2 separate regions of the Homo sapiens genome follow, and region 1 is linked to region 2. The links are contacts of gene promoters, found by promoter capture Hi-C in blood cells and fetal thymus (Javierre and others, 2016). All regions are on one chromosome and are shown on one strand. The core of a region is centred on a gene start or on the middle of the fragment in contact, and the rest is flanking DNA. Distances in the headings are between cores, read along the strand shown. Region 1 overlaps WDTC1 (WD and tetratricopeptide repeats 1). Region 2 holds the start of KDF1 (keratinocyte differentiation factor 1).

Region 1 (6,664 bases), core at 2,093-4,592, 350 kb before region 2:
AGATTGCCCTACATGTAAGAGCTATATACACGAAAAGTTATAAAATTGTCCTTGGTTTTACAATGATAAATGAAAAACATTAAAATTCTCCAATTGAATAAGGTATGCAAGGATTTTTTTTTTTTGTTAAAATAGTGAGAACAAAATAACATTGCAATGTAAGATAAGAGTTGAATGAGCATGCCACTGATGGAGAAAGGGAGGTAATTTTCAAGAATCGGTATTTTTCCCCACAGATATGTTTTGATTGACATCAAGTGGATGTCATTGGCCATTTAATATTTAAAACAGCAAAATGCTTGTGAACATACACCCATTATTTTATGTACAATAAGGGAATGGGTAAGGGAAAAATAAAAGAATAGAGAAAACTATACTATAGTAATAGTCATGATGTGGTGGAACCAAATTGCAGTTTTCTAATTGAGAATGTAATCTTGGTCTATAAGAACAAAGTTCTAGAGTAAAGAAGCAGGTTCCTTTTTCAGTAGACACTTCTTGTCTGTTGCTGAAACACATCAATTGTATCTTCATCCTCCATTTCCAACTGTGCAGGTGTGTCTGTTTCATTGACTGGTTGCCTGTCAAATTAGAATCTGATCTGCCTCACTGACAAACTCTGTCATTCACAATAGACTTTCATTACTCTACTAAGTGGTATATGACTCTTTTTTTTTCTTTTATGAGATGGCATCTCGTTCTGTCACCCAGGCTGGAGGGCAGTGGCGCGATCTCGGCTCACTGCAACCTCCGCCTCCCGGGTTCAAGCAATTCTCCTGCCTCAGCTTCCCAAGTAGCTGAGACTACAGGCACATACCACCATGTCCAGCTATTTTTTTGTATTTTTAGTAGAGACGGGGTTTCACCATATTGGTCAGGCTGGTCTCAAACTCCAGACCTCAGGTGATCCACCCACCTTGGCCTCCCAAAGTGCTGGGATTACAGGTGTGAGCCACCATACCCGGCCGGTATATGACTTTTAATTTTAAACTGCACCATGGAACAATCCTGCCCCATTACCTTCAAATTAATAAGATTGTTATTCTCAGTCTTGACTCCTTCCTTGGGCTTTTCATCAGCCACACGAGTGCTGGAGTCTCCTCAGCTGCTACTTCACCAATGAGGCACCAGGTCTGCACAGAATGAATGAGCACACAAACGGCACCAGGAGAGGCAGAAGGAGGTGGAACAGTGGAACTATTCTGGGTCTGCTACATTTTCATGTAAACTTTAGGATCAGTTGGTGATACTCACAAAATAACTTGCTGGGACTATGACCAGGATCACATTGAAGCTATAGATCAAGTTGGAAAGAACTGACATCCTAATATTGAGTTTTCCTATCCGTGAACATGGACCATCTCTCCATTTACTTGATCTTCCTTGGTTTCTTTTATCAGTTTTGTAGTTTTGCTCATACAAACCTTGTACATATGTTGTTAGATTTATTCCTAAGTACTTTTTTGGGGGGATGCTAATGAGGGCTGAATACGTGGAGGACAAGGTGCTTTTAGAACAGTGAAACTATTCTGTATGACAATGTAATGGTGGATACGAGACATGCATTTGTCAAAACCCATAGAACTTTGCAACACAAAGAGTGAACCGTAATGTAAACTATGGACTTCAGTTATCATAATGTATCAATATTGGTTCATTAATTACAACAACACACTAATGCAAGATGTTAATAATTGGGAAAATTGAGCTGGGGAAAGAGGGTTATATGAAACTCATTATACTATCTGCTCAATTTTCTGTAAGCCTAAAACTGCTCTAGAAAGTAAAGGCTATTAATTTTTTAAAAAATGGAGTACCAACTCCAAATGAAATGGAGACCCTCGTGAAGTCTTCCAATGCCTCCCTTGCCTACAGGATTGAGTCTGTGGTCTCTCACCAGCCATAGGAAGTCCTTCAGTTTGACTGCTCCTCCAGTCTACCCTCTACAATCCAGCCAGATGGAGTCACTCAGGGTTCATGAAGGAACCTGAGACTCTGCACTACTCCCTGGTCTGGAACATTGTCCTTCCTTTGTCTGGTCTGGAAATGCCTTCAAGAAGCTTCTGCAGACGTTAATTTGGGTACACAGAGGAATGATACCAGCCCACAGTATCTGTTTTATAATACCACCTATTGTGTTTCCGGCAGGACCTCTCAGTAGTTTCAGTAGTGGAACTGCTATTCCCACAGACTAAACCATAGTTCCCCAACTGTGCATCAAGGTGCCTGAGGGCACCCACAGCAAATTCACAGGGGGCAAAGTAGGATATTTTGAAAGATATTCAACATCTTTGGCTAATGAGAGAACTATTAGCTCAAGGTAGTTCACAGTTCCATTATTACATTATGCCACAATCCTTTTGATGATGTCATCTTTAAGAAGCTGGGTCTTGGCCGGGCGCAGTGGCTCATGCCTGTAATCCCAGCACTTTGGGAGGCCGAGGCGGGTGGACCACAAGGTCAGGAGAGCGAGACCATCTTGGCTAACGTGGTGAAACCCCATCTCTACTAAAAACATAAAAAATAAGCCAGGTCTGGTGGCAGCTGCCTGTAGTCCCAGCTACTCAGGAGGCTGAGGCAGGAGAATGGCATGAACTCAGAAGGTGGAGCTTGCGGTGAGCCGAAATCGCACCACTGCACTCCAGCCTGGGCAACAGAGCAAGACTCCGCCTCAAAAAAAAAAAAAAAAAAAAAAAAGAAGCTGGGTCTTTAGTGGTTGCTGTGATAAAAAGCAAATGAAAATCAATGTGGGACAGGAAATGAAGGCAGCAGTGTTTGCTTTGATTAGAAAATTTAACAAGTTGTTCAGTGCCCAATGGGCAGCATAGATCCCATTAGTAATTGCAGTTGTTTAAGAATGAAGGCTGGGCGCGGTGGCTCACACCTGTAATCCCAGCACTTTGGGAGGTTGAGGCGGGCAGATCACCTGAGGTCAGGAGTTTGAGACCAGCCTGGCCAAGGTGGTGAAACCCCATCTCTGCTAAAAATACAAAAAATTAGCTGGGTGTGGTGGCGGGCACCTGTAATCCCAGCTACTTGGGAGGCTGAGGCAGGAGAATCGCTTGAACCCAGGAGGCGGAGGTTGCAGTGAGCCGCAATTGCACAATTGCACTCCAGCCTGGGCGACAAAAACGAAACTGTCTCAAAAAAAAAATAAAAAATAAAAAATAAATAAAAATGCAAAAAAAAAAAAATAGCTGGGCATGGTGGCACATGCCTGTAATCCCAGCTACTTGGGAGGCTGAGGTAGGAGAATCACTTGAACCCGGGAGGCGGTGGTTGCAGTGAGCTGAGATCATGCCACTGCACTCCAGCCTGGGCAACAGAGCAAGACTCCGTCTCAAAAAAAAAAAAAAAAAAAAAGAATGAAATAAATATTGTTTCTTCCAATTCAGGTGTATTATTTTTTAAATGGCAACTAACTTGTTAGGACATAAATACTTTTTAAGTGATTTGGACTTAACTACTTAATAAATTGAACTGTTATTTCTTTTGGCTTAGAGGCTCCATGAAAAAATTACTGAGATGGTAATGGTGCTGTGAGCTAAGAAAGTTCAGGAACCTATAGTCTAAGAGATTATCTAATCCAGGGCACTTCAAAAACTTGCATATGTGAAATCAATTTAGTGGGTTATAGCCATATTTTTTTCCCTAATAAAACAGAAGGGTAAGCAGAGTACACTGCATGTAGCAAGGGTAAATATTATTGTGTAAAACTTTTGTTCATTTTTTTTATATATATATACACACACACATATCTACAAGTAATCATGTGTATATTGGGTCACAATGTAAAATGGTTTGAAAAACCACTAAGATTCCAAGTCCCTTATTTTACTGATGAGAAAACAGCCAGAGAGTGAAAGCTGATGATTACAAATCACAGCCATGAGAGCTGGGCTCTGCACTCAGCCCTGCTGGGCTGGGTGGCCGCTGCTCACGGTGACCCTTCAAGGCAGGCCTCATTCTGTCCAGTAGAGGTGTGGTTACTAAGTCATAGAGCTACAGAGGTGAGGGACCAGGTGCCCTCACTTTGGTTCCAAGACCCATCTGCACCCCACAAATGCCACCAGCCACACCTAGAACAAAATGGTTTTAATCAATTGCGTCACCCTCACTCTCCTGGGAGCGGAGCAACAAAAAGGCTCGGCTCCTGCCCCCAGAGGACAGTAAGGCTTATGTGTCTCTCCACACTGCAGGGCCCAGGCTGGGCAGGCAGGGGGTGGGAAGCAGGACAGGGGGCAGGGAGGGAGGGTGGGAGGCAGGGAGGAAATGGCAGGTGGCTGGAACACAAGAAAGCAAAGGGGACCCAGCTGGTCCTTGGGCCCCAGGGCCCAGCCCCAATACTCCTGCTCTCCCTTCTCCCTGGCTAGAGAAAGGTCACGGAGAAGAGACAGGGGAGCAGGTCCCAGCAGCAGGAGAAGCAGCAGCAGCTGTTTCCTTCACCAATAAATATACTTCATTACCAAGCTAGAAGAGAGGGGTGGGAAGAGGGACTGGGGTGGGAAGGAAGGGGGAGAAGCTGCCACCTGTGTTGCTGGGATTAAAGCAATGAGATGGTGCCAGACCCCCCACCACTATCCTCACCCTCCACTTGTCTTCTTAAAACTGTGAAAAAGCTTTTAACATGGCCCTCCTGTCTCCAGGGCTGCTCTGAAGCCTGACTGAGAGGAGGCACCTGGCAGAGACAGGGGCTGAGGGAGGGAGCGAGGGAGTGGAGGGAGAGGAGAAGGGAGGCTGCTTTTCCCCAGGGGCTGCAGCTGGAGGGCTGGAGCCAAGTAAGCACTGAAGGGGAAGCAGGGAGGGAGAGAGGGGGAAGGATGAACCAACTACCTGGAGCAGCTGGAGCTAAGAGCCGGGGGCAGAGGGGAGGAGAGGCCTGGTGAGTGGTGGGTTGATCGCTGCATCCAGTGTAAAGCTTGGGGCTGCTGGGGAGGGAGGGGCCGAGTAAGGGACTTTCCCATCTGAGTGGCTCAGGAGACCCACCCCTCTCCCCTCAGAGCAGCAGGGGACAGAGAAAAGCCATCACTTCTTTGGTCTTTGTGGCGGCTCAGCATGTGGGATGGGAAGGAGGGCAGAAAGGGCAGAGAAGGGCCCTTAGCAGGAAGCGCCACCTCAGCAGAGTAGGCCTGGCTGGGAGCTCTGGCAGAAAGGTCACAGTGAGGCTGAGGAGCGCCCAAGAGGAGAATGGCCGTAGTGCAGAAGTGCTGGCATGGATGGGTGGGGTAAGGTGCAGTGCCCCACCCTCTGCCAGGGCCCTTGGGAAAGGCAGAGCCTCCAGAGGTGGCCAGTGAGAGTAGGTGCAGGGCCAGAGCTAGTAGCCAGGAGAGGAGCGAGGGTGCTCCACAGCGACCTCAGCAGGTGGCCTGGTCTTGCCCACTCCAGGGCTCCCATCCTTCCTTTGGGCTCCGCTCTAACACTGGTGGCTCTGGAGGGAGGGTGGGACCCATCCTTTTTCAAAACCTTTCCTGAAGACCACAGGGGAGCTAGCCTTGCAGGCTAGGGAGCAAGAGTGGCAACAGGCCAAGGCGAGCCCTTACCAATTGGGAATCCCACTCCTCCTGCTGCTGCCAGCTAAAGGGCAGGACAGTCCCTGAAGACAGTTCAGCTTGTTCCTCCCCACCTGAGGCAGAAGGGGTTTTGAGGCAGGCCAGAGCCCTCCAGGGACATGAAAGCAGGAGATGGGGGGGGGCATATGGAGGGGTGTCCCCTCCTGCTCTTTTTTTCAGGGCTGGGGATAGTCAGGGGACAATCAGCCCAGAGTCCGAAAGCCAGCAAGTTGTAGCAACCTCCACCCCTAACGCCAAACTAACAAACAAAACAGGGGAAATGAAAAAAAAGGGTGGTGGGGAAGACAAACCAAAACAGAATCCCCTGACCTCCTGCCCAGGGCAGAGGGTCCAGCCAGTAGCAGGGGCTGGGGACCAGGGCTGGAGGGTCTAGCTGGGCCGGCACTGCACCTGGCCCTCAGAGCTGTCCTCATCATCAGAGGCCCCGGCACCCCCACTGCTCAGGCCCGTGATCCGGTAGCCCATGTTGAGCAGCATCACCTCCAACGGGTCTGCATTCATGCGCCGCTGGTTGGCCTGTGAAGCACCCTCCATATCTTCCACGACTCGGCCTGTGAGGTCTTCACTCTGTGGTGGAGAAAGGGGTGACACACGTGGGGCTCAGGGAGGGAGAGGCACCAGGGTACACGTATAGGGGAGGGGGAGGGAAATACACAGACTAAACTATCTATAGGGGGAGGTACACATACATGCCAGGAGGTGTATATGGTGGAGGGGAACACACAACCTTGGCTACATATTGTTGGGGGTGCTCACGCTGGAATATATATGGGAGATACGCCACCTCAGGATATACAGGCAGGTCATAACATGCTGGGATATACGTGGGGGACAGTACACACCAGGATATGTTGGACACACATACTGGGATACCTGGGACAAGGGGCAGATACAACTTCCCCACCCCATTCTGTTTTGTTGCCACAACTCTTGCTTCATCTTTCTTTCTCCTCTCCTCTCAATGGGGAAGCCTATAGGGGTCCTCTCTTTAAAAGTCACAGCAAATTATCTTGGGAATCAGACATACCACTTGACTTTTGTTTTGCCAGCTGGGAAGAGGGAAGCAGTAGGGCAGAGGGGAAGGGGAGGCACCA
Region 2 (6,860 bases), core at 4,267-6,766:
CAGGTTGTGACCCGGAAAACTCACCCCAGTAGACCTCTCTCTCCTTTGTCGGCTGAATGATGGACCTATAAGGTACTCTGTTTTGCTTCAAAGAGTGTCAATTTTTTGTTTGTTTTTTGTTTGTTTGTTTGTTTGTTTGTTTGTTTTGTAGGGAGGGGGTTGGTTTTGTTATTTTTTGTTTATTTATTTTTATTTACTTATTTATTTTGAGACAGATTTTCGCTCTGGCGTCCAGGCTGGAGTGCAATGGCGCAATCTCACTGCAACCTCCGCCACCTGGGTTCAAGCTACTCTCCTGCCTCAGCCTCCCGATTAGCTGGGATTACAGGCATGAGCCACCACGCCTGGCTAATTTTTTTGTATTTTTACCAGGGACGGGGTTTCACCATGTCAGTCAGGCTGGTCTCGAACTCCTGGCCTCAGGTGATCCGCCCACCTCGGCCTCCCAAAGTGTTGAGATTACAGGGTGAGCCACCGCGCCTGGCTTGTTTTGTTATTTATTTATTTATTTATTTATTTATTTAAAAAATTTTATTTATTTACTTAAATTGACTAATAAAAATTTATTTACTTAAATTGATTAATAAAATTATTAGTATTTTTATTATTGTTTGGTTTTTAATTGTGGGAAAATACTTCTACATAAAATCTGCCATTTAAACTATTTTAAAATATAAATTCAGTGGCATTAATTACATTCACAGTGTTGTGCAACCATCACAACTATCTATTTCCAAAACTTTTTTTTATCACTCCAAACAGAGACTCTGTACCCATTAAGCAGTAACTACCCATTCCCCTCTCCCTCCAGCCCCTGATAACGGCTAACCTTTCTGTCTCTATTAATTTGACTATTCTAGATATTTCATGTAAGTGAGAATCATACAATATTTGTCCTTTGTGTCTGGCTTATTTCACTTAGCATAATGTCTTCAAGGTTCATACCTATTGTTGCATGTGTCAGAACTTCATTGTTTTTATGACTGAATAATATTCCCTTGTACGTATATATCACATTTTGTTCATCCATTCATCTGTTGGGTTGTTTCTACCTTTTGGCTATTGTGAATAATGCTGCAATGAACACTGGCATACAAGTATCTGTTTGAAGCCCTGTTCTGATTATTTTGTGTATGTATCTAGAGTGTCATTGATTTTTTTTGGGTTTTTTTTTTGAGACAGAGTTTTGCTCTTGTCACCTAGGCTGGAGTGCAATGGAGTGTTCTTGGCTCATTGCAACCTCCGCCTCCCAGGTTCAAGCGATTCTCCTGCCTCAGCCTCCTGAGTAGCTGCAATTACAGGCTTCTGCCACCATGCCTGTCTAATTTTTGTATTTTTAGTAGAGACAGGGTTTCACCATGTTGGCCAGGCTGGTCTCAGACTCCCGATCTTAGGTGATCTGCCAGCCTCGGCCTCCCAAAGTGCTAGGATTACAGGCGCCCACTACCACGCCTGGCTAATTTTGTATTTTCAGTAGAGACGGGGTTTCACCATGTTGGCCAGGCTGGTTTCGAACTTCTGATCTCAAGTGATCCACCTGCCTCGGCCTCCCAAAGTGCTAGGATTACAGGCATGAGCCACTGTGCCTGGCCCAAGTGTCATTGATTTTTGACAGACTTTTTGAATACGCACCGTGGCAATGGGAAGGACCCTTCGGAACAGGGCCCAGTATCTTTGAGTGAGGGAGGGAGACGAGCAGAGAAAGGGGAGGTTTCAGTGTGGCTATAATTAGAATAACAGCTACCTTGTGCCTATTGCAAAACTCTTCACAAAACACTCACCAGAAAGCGTAGCCAGAGGTTCAGAGATCATATTTATTTATTTATTTCCTTCCTTCCTTCCTTCCTTCCTTTCTTCCTTTATTCTTTCTAGGCAAGGAAAGTAGCTCTGAGCTGCTTCAGTCATCATATTCTTATTAATCTACAGCATTTTAGGTACCACAGAATTAGAATTTTGTAGAGCAATTCTGCACTTCTACAGCTAAAGTTCTGGAAAAAGCAAAACTATGGAAACAGAAGAAAGATCAGTGGTTGTTAAGGGCTGGAGTCAAGGGGAGGAACTGACCACAGAGGGGTTCAGGGGAATTTCTGGGAGGTGATGGAACTGATCTATATCTTGATTGCTGTGGCAGTTGTGCCATTGTATGCATTTTTCAAAACTCACAAAACTGTACACTAAAAAGGGTGAATTTTACTATAGGTAAATTATACCTTAATTTTTTCTTTTTAAAAAAAGAATGAATAAATAAATGGGGAGAAAACTAAATAATACTTAATACTCCCAGCTACTCGGGAGGCTGAGGTGGGAGGATTCCTTGAACCCAGGAGGCGGAGGCTACTGTGAGCCAAGATCACATCTCTGCACTTCAGACTGGGTGACAAAGTGAGACCCTGTCTCAAACAACAGCAACAACAACAACAACAACAAAAACTAAATAAGAACCTAGGCCAGGCGCAGTGGCTCACGCCTGTAATCCCAGCACTTTGGGAGGTCGACGCAGGCGGATCATTGAGGTCAAGAGATTGAGACCATCCTGGCCAACATGGTGAAACCCTGTCTCTACTAAAAATAAAAAAATTAGCTGGGCATGGTGGTGCACACCTGCAGTCCCAGCTACTTGGGAGGCTGAGGCAGAACTGCTTGAACCCGGGAGGCAGAGGTTGCAGCGAGCCGAGATCGTGCCACTGCACTCCAGCCTGGTGACAAAGCGAGACTCCATCTCAAAAAAATAAAATAAAATAAAATAAAATAAAATAAATAAGACCCTAGGCTCTCATGTGTTTGCGTATCTTGAGAACTTTGCAAGTGACACTAACTCTAATTATTTAGCATTAGAGCATAAACTTCTATTTTTTCATTCATTCATTATAAAATGAAAGCCCCTGAATCCACTATTCACAAAAACCAGAACATTGCTAAAAATTAAATCTACCTATGGGTTTCTCTCCCACAGGTAGATTTAATAGGAGGATCCCTGCATCCTCCCCCAGGTAATTTTGTGTGTGTGTGTGTGTGTGTGTGTGTGTGTGTGTGTGTGTGTGTGGTGTGTTCCAGGCTGGAGGGCAGGGCAGTGGTGTTAATATGGTTCACTGCAGCCTTGACCTCCTGGGCTCAAGCAATCCTCCTGCCACAGCCTCCCAAGTAGCTGGGACCACAGATGCATGACCAGCCTTTTTTTTTTTTTTTTTTTCCTTCCATAGAGACAGGTCCTTCTATGTTGCCCAGGCTGGTCTTGAAGTCCTGGGCTCAACCAAACCTCCCAAATCCTTGGCTTCCCAAAGTGCTGGGATTATAGGCATGAGCCACCATGCCTAGCCCCCCAGGTATTCATTATTCTGAACTTTGTGTTTCTCATTCCCTTGCTCTTTTCTTTCTTTTCTTTTTTGAGATAGGGTCTTGCTATGTTGCCCAGGCTGGTCTTGAACTCCTTGGCTCAAGAGATTCTCTTGCCTCAGCCTCCCAAGTAGCTGGGATTACAGGCCCAGGCTATTGCACCCAACGCCTTGCTCTTTTCTTAGTTTTTTTTCACGTAAAAATTAGGCTGAAGCACATGAATCTGCCATTACTTTTAGATCAAAACAGGTCAAATAACAGCAAATTCATATGGTTCAACCAAATATTATGCTTAGATGCAGTAGTTCTAGTTATTTTTGAATCATATATAAAGGATGTCATTCCATATGTAGTCTTCTGAGATTTGCCTTTTTTCAATCCAATATTATATTACCATGATCCAACCATGTTGCTATTTTTCATTCATTTTCTACTGCTCTATAATTAATTCCTTTGCATGAATATCCCACATTTCTCTATCTCCTGTCAGTAGCATTTCCGTGTTTTCGGTTTGGGGCTACCACAAACAATGTTTCTAGTAACATTCTTGTATACATTCTCTCCTGGTGCATTGCACAAGAGCTTACTGTGGCTGTACCATAGGAATGGACTTGCTAGGTTTTAGAGTACACAGATGTTCAACTGCACAAGATGTGACTGTGAAGTGAGGATGTGACTCATTCTCTGAGCTCCAAATAAGAATACAATGTGCACTTTCCTCAGGAGGGAATGTGGACAAGATGTGGTGGGAGGCGCTGGGATGGAGGGTCTCTGGTGGAAATTGAACACCTATGCCTAATGCATCCCAGTGATATCTTCCTGTTGCATCCATGATCTCTTTTAATCCTCCCAGTTAAAGAGAGGTACTACTATCTCCAGAGATTAGGTTTAGAGAAGGAAAGTGCCTTGCCAAAAGTCAGTTTGTGCCAACTGCCTGAGCAAACAATGTCCCCTCTCTAAGCTTCAGTTTCCTCTTACTGTAAAATGGATATGATAATACCTGACCCACTTCACAGATTAACGGCTTCGGCATGCATGGCTCCTGGAGATGCTCCCTAAAAGTCACTTGTTTGTTTGTTTGTTTTGTTTATTTGAGACAGAGTCTCGCTCTGTCGCCCAGGCTGGAGTGCAATGGCGCGATCTCGGCTCACTGCAACCTCTGCCTGCTGGGTTCAAGCCATTCTCCTGCCTCAGCCTCCCGAGTAGCTGGGATTACAGGCACTTGCTACCATGCTAGGCTAATTTTTTGTATTTTTAGTAGAGACTGGGTTTCACTATGTTGGCCAGGCTGGTCTCAAACTCCCACCTCGCGATCCTCCCGCCTCGGCCTCCCAAAGTGCTGGGATTACAGGCATGAGCCACTGCGCCCGGCCAAGTCACTTGTTTATTAATGCTATTGTTAAGTTATTGAGTTGTTATTAATATTAAGGGGAACAGTAACCCAGAATAGTCTGAGCCTTGCCTTATTGACATTCAATGGTGTTGCCTCTTGCAGAGACCTTTTTTGGATGTAGTGACCATGGCCCATTTTGGCCACCACTTCTGATCCTGGATGTATCTTTCAGAGCTGCATATCCGGTCCCCCTCCTCTACCCTACTCGGGGCCTCAGAGCTGAGGTTCCTGTCTTTACCTGCAGATTTCTCTGAACAAAAGAAAAGGTAAACTGATCAGCGGCCCAGGCTCCCAGTTCTGCCTCAGGGCAAAGGGAGAAATTGGGGCCCAGGGCCTCATTCAGTGGAAAATATTTGTTGAACACCTAGTATGTGCCAGGACCTGTGCTGAGCACCAGGAACACAGGGGAACAAGACCAAACCCTGCAAGGTAGGAGGCTAAAGGAGGAGACAGAAGACAACAAAACGACAGTGTGCTGAGTACAGGGACTGTTCTAACCAACAGAAAAACAGACAGGATCAGGGAAAGCTTCCCAGAAGAGAGCTTCCCTTTGAGTTGGAGCTTTACGGCCGGGCAGAAGTTCCACAGGTGCTCAGAGACTGACAGGACCACCAGCCTGTTGAACAGAAGAGGAGACTGAGCCCCAGCGCCTCTCGACCCCTCCCCGCCACACCTCACCTACCCGGACTAGGCTGAACGGGCCGAGCACTCGAGCGGGGACGCGCAGCTCTGCAGAGCCCCGGGGCGGGGCCTCGGTCCAGGTGCGCGGTAGCGCTTCGCGGAGGCAGGAAGTGTGTCCCTAGCGGCGGCCCGTGCAGCGCTCCCGCGAGACGCTCACCTGCGCCCCAGGTGAGCGGCGAGGGGGCGGGGGAGGGGCTGAGCCGGAGGCGGCTCACCTGGCGGGACAGGTAAGCCCGGCGCGGGCCCAGGGGGGCGCAAGCCAGGGCGGCGCCGGTGTCGGGAGCCCCCCGAAGCTGAGCCCGGACAGGAGAGGGTCCCGGGCCCGGTTCCTCGGGGGCCACCCTCCTACTTCCGGGGTGCGCGGGCCGGGCTGGGGAGCGGCCTGAGCGGGCGCCCGGGCTGGGCGCGCAGAATGGGGTGAGGGGCCGCGTTCGCCCTTAGGGCTGCACTGGCTGGGTGCGGGGGCCGCACTCACCGGGGGGCAGCGTCGGGATGGGACAAACGCTGGTGCTCACCCCGAGGAACAGCGTCGGGACGGGAGGGAGGCTGGGTCCGCCCGCGGGGTAGGGCCCTTGCAGCTGGAGAGGGTAGTGCTCGCCCCGAGGGCAGAGTTGGTGTAGGGGCTGTGGTAGCCCGGGGGACAGTGCCAGGATCTGGTTCTTCCTTGTCCCCAGGACTAGCTGCCCGCGGATATGGGACTCTCGGGCTGCACCTTTGGGGCAGGAGGCCGAGGGTGCACTGAGCCGACGGCTGTTTCTCGAGCAGGACTGGGGTGGTCCTCCCCGGCCGGGTGTCCGAGGCTTGGCACTGGGCTGGGGGCAGAGGCTGGTGCGGCCGGGCCTGTCCTGGGGACCCTCGGAGGAGGGGACGGTACATAGACCCTTGAGTGTGTGTGTGTGTTCGCGGGACTAAGGGGGAAGAGGAAAGCATCAACGAGAAATCCAGGGAGGGCGGGCCGGGACCCTCTGACCCCCGGGAACATCCTTGCGGTGCCTTAGATCGCCTAGTGACCTAGCCCCTCCCATGGGCAAGGCCACTGCGGGAAGCCCCCTGCACTCAATATTTCATTTAAATCTCACGGGATTGGCGGGGCATGAAGATACTAGTCTCTCCTTATTTAAAGATGAGGAAAGTGAGGTTAAGAATCTTGCCTCAAGCCACAATAGGGACAGGGAGTCTCCCCTCACTAAACCAAGTGACCAGGTTCCTAGGATTGGGCGGGGTGGTGGCGGGGCGGTGGCAGCAGGGTCGGGGAGATACAGCCTGGAAGAAACTGCCTGAGTTTGACTTCAGGAGGGTTCAATGGCTGGAGGGAAGTGGGGAACTGAGGCAGGCATTGTCCTTATCCCAGGTCTTCTCTTCTCATCCCACCACCGCTGGAGATGTGTGGCACACACAAAGTACGCAGGCTTCAGAGCCTGGCGGGCCACAGTGCAAATCTTACTCCAGCCCT

Evidence for each region. The method cuts DNA at HindIII sites, captures the fragments that hold promoters and counts their contacts. A CHiCAGO score of 5 or more calls a contact.
Region 1: a fragment that was not itself captured here is called in contact with the fragment with the promoter of KDF1 in region 2 in 9 of 17 cell types (M0 macrophages, erythroblasts, endothelial precursors and 6 more); the score reaches 9.1 in M0 macrophages.

The regions. Positions count from the first base shown.
Region 1 is chr1:27,305,659-27,312,322 of GRCh38, reverse strand. WDTC1 (WD and tetratricopeptide repeats 1) reads right to left here. Exons shown (of 16, transcript NM_001276252.2): 16 at 3,687-6,137. The coding sequence ends at 5,940. Among named protein-coding and RNA genes, the nearest start is that of TMEM222, 13 kb to the left of the region's middle. RefSeq lists enhancers at 3,491-4,015, 4,016-4,541, 4,542-5,067. The HindIII fragment of the contact is 2,559 bases long and covers 2,063-4,621 here.
Region 2 is chr1:26,959,124-26,965,983 of GRCh38, reverse strand. KDF1 (keratinocyte differentiation factor 1) reads left to right here and starts at 5,516. Exons shown (of 4, transcript NM_152365.3): 1 at 5,516-5,634. RefSeq lists a silencer at 4,232-4,526 and an enhancer at 5,396-6,078. The HindIII fragment of the contact is 1,819 bases long and covers 5,257-6,860 here.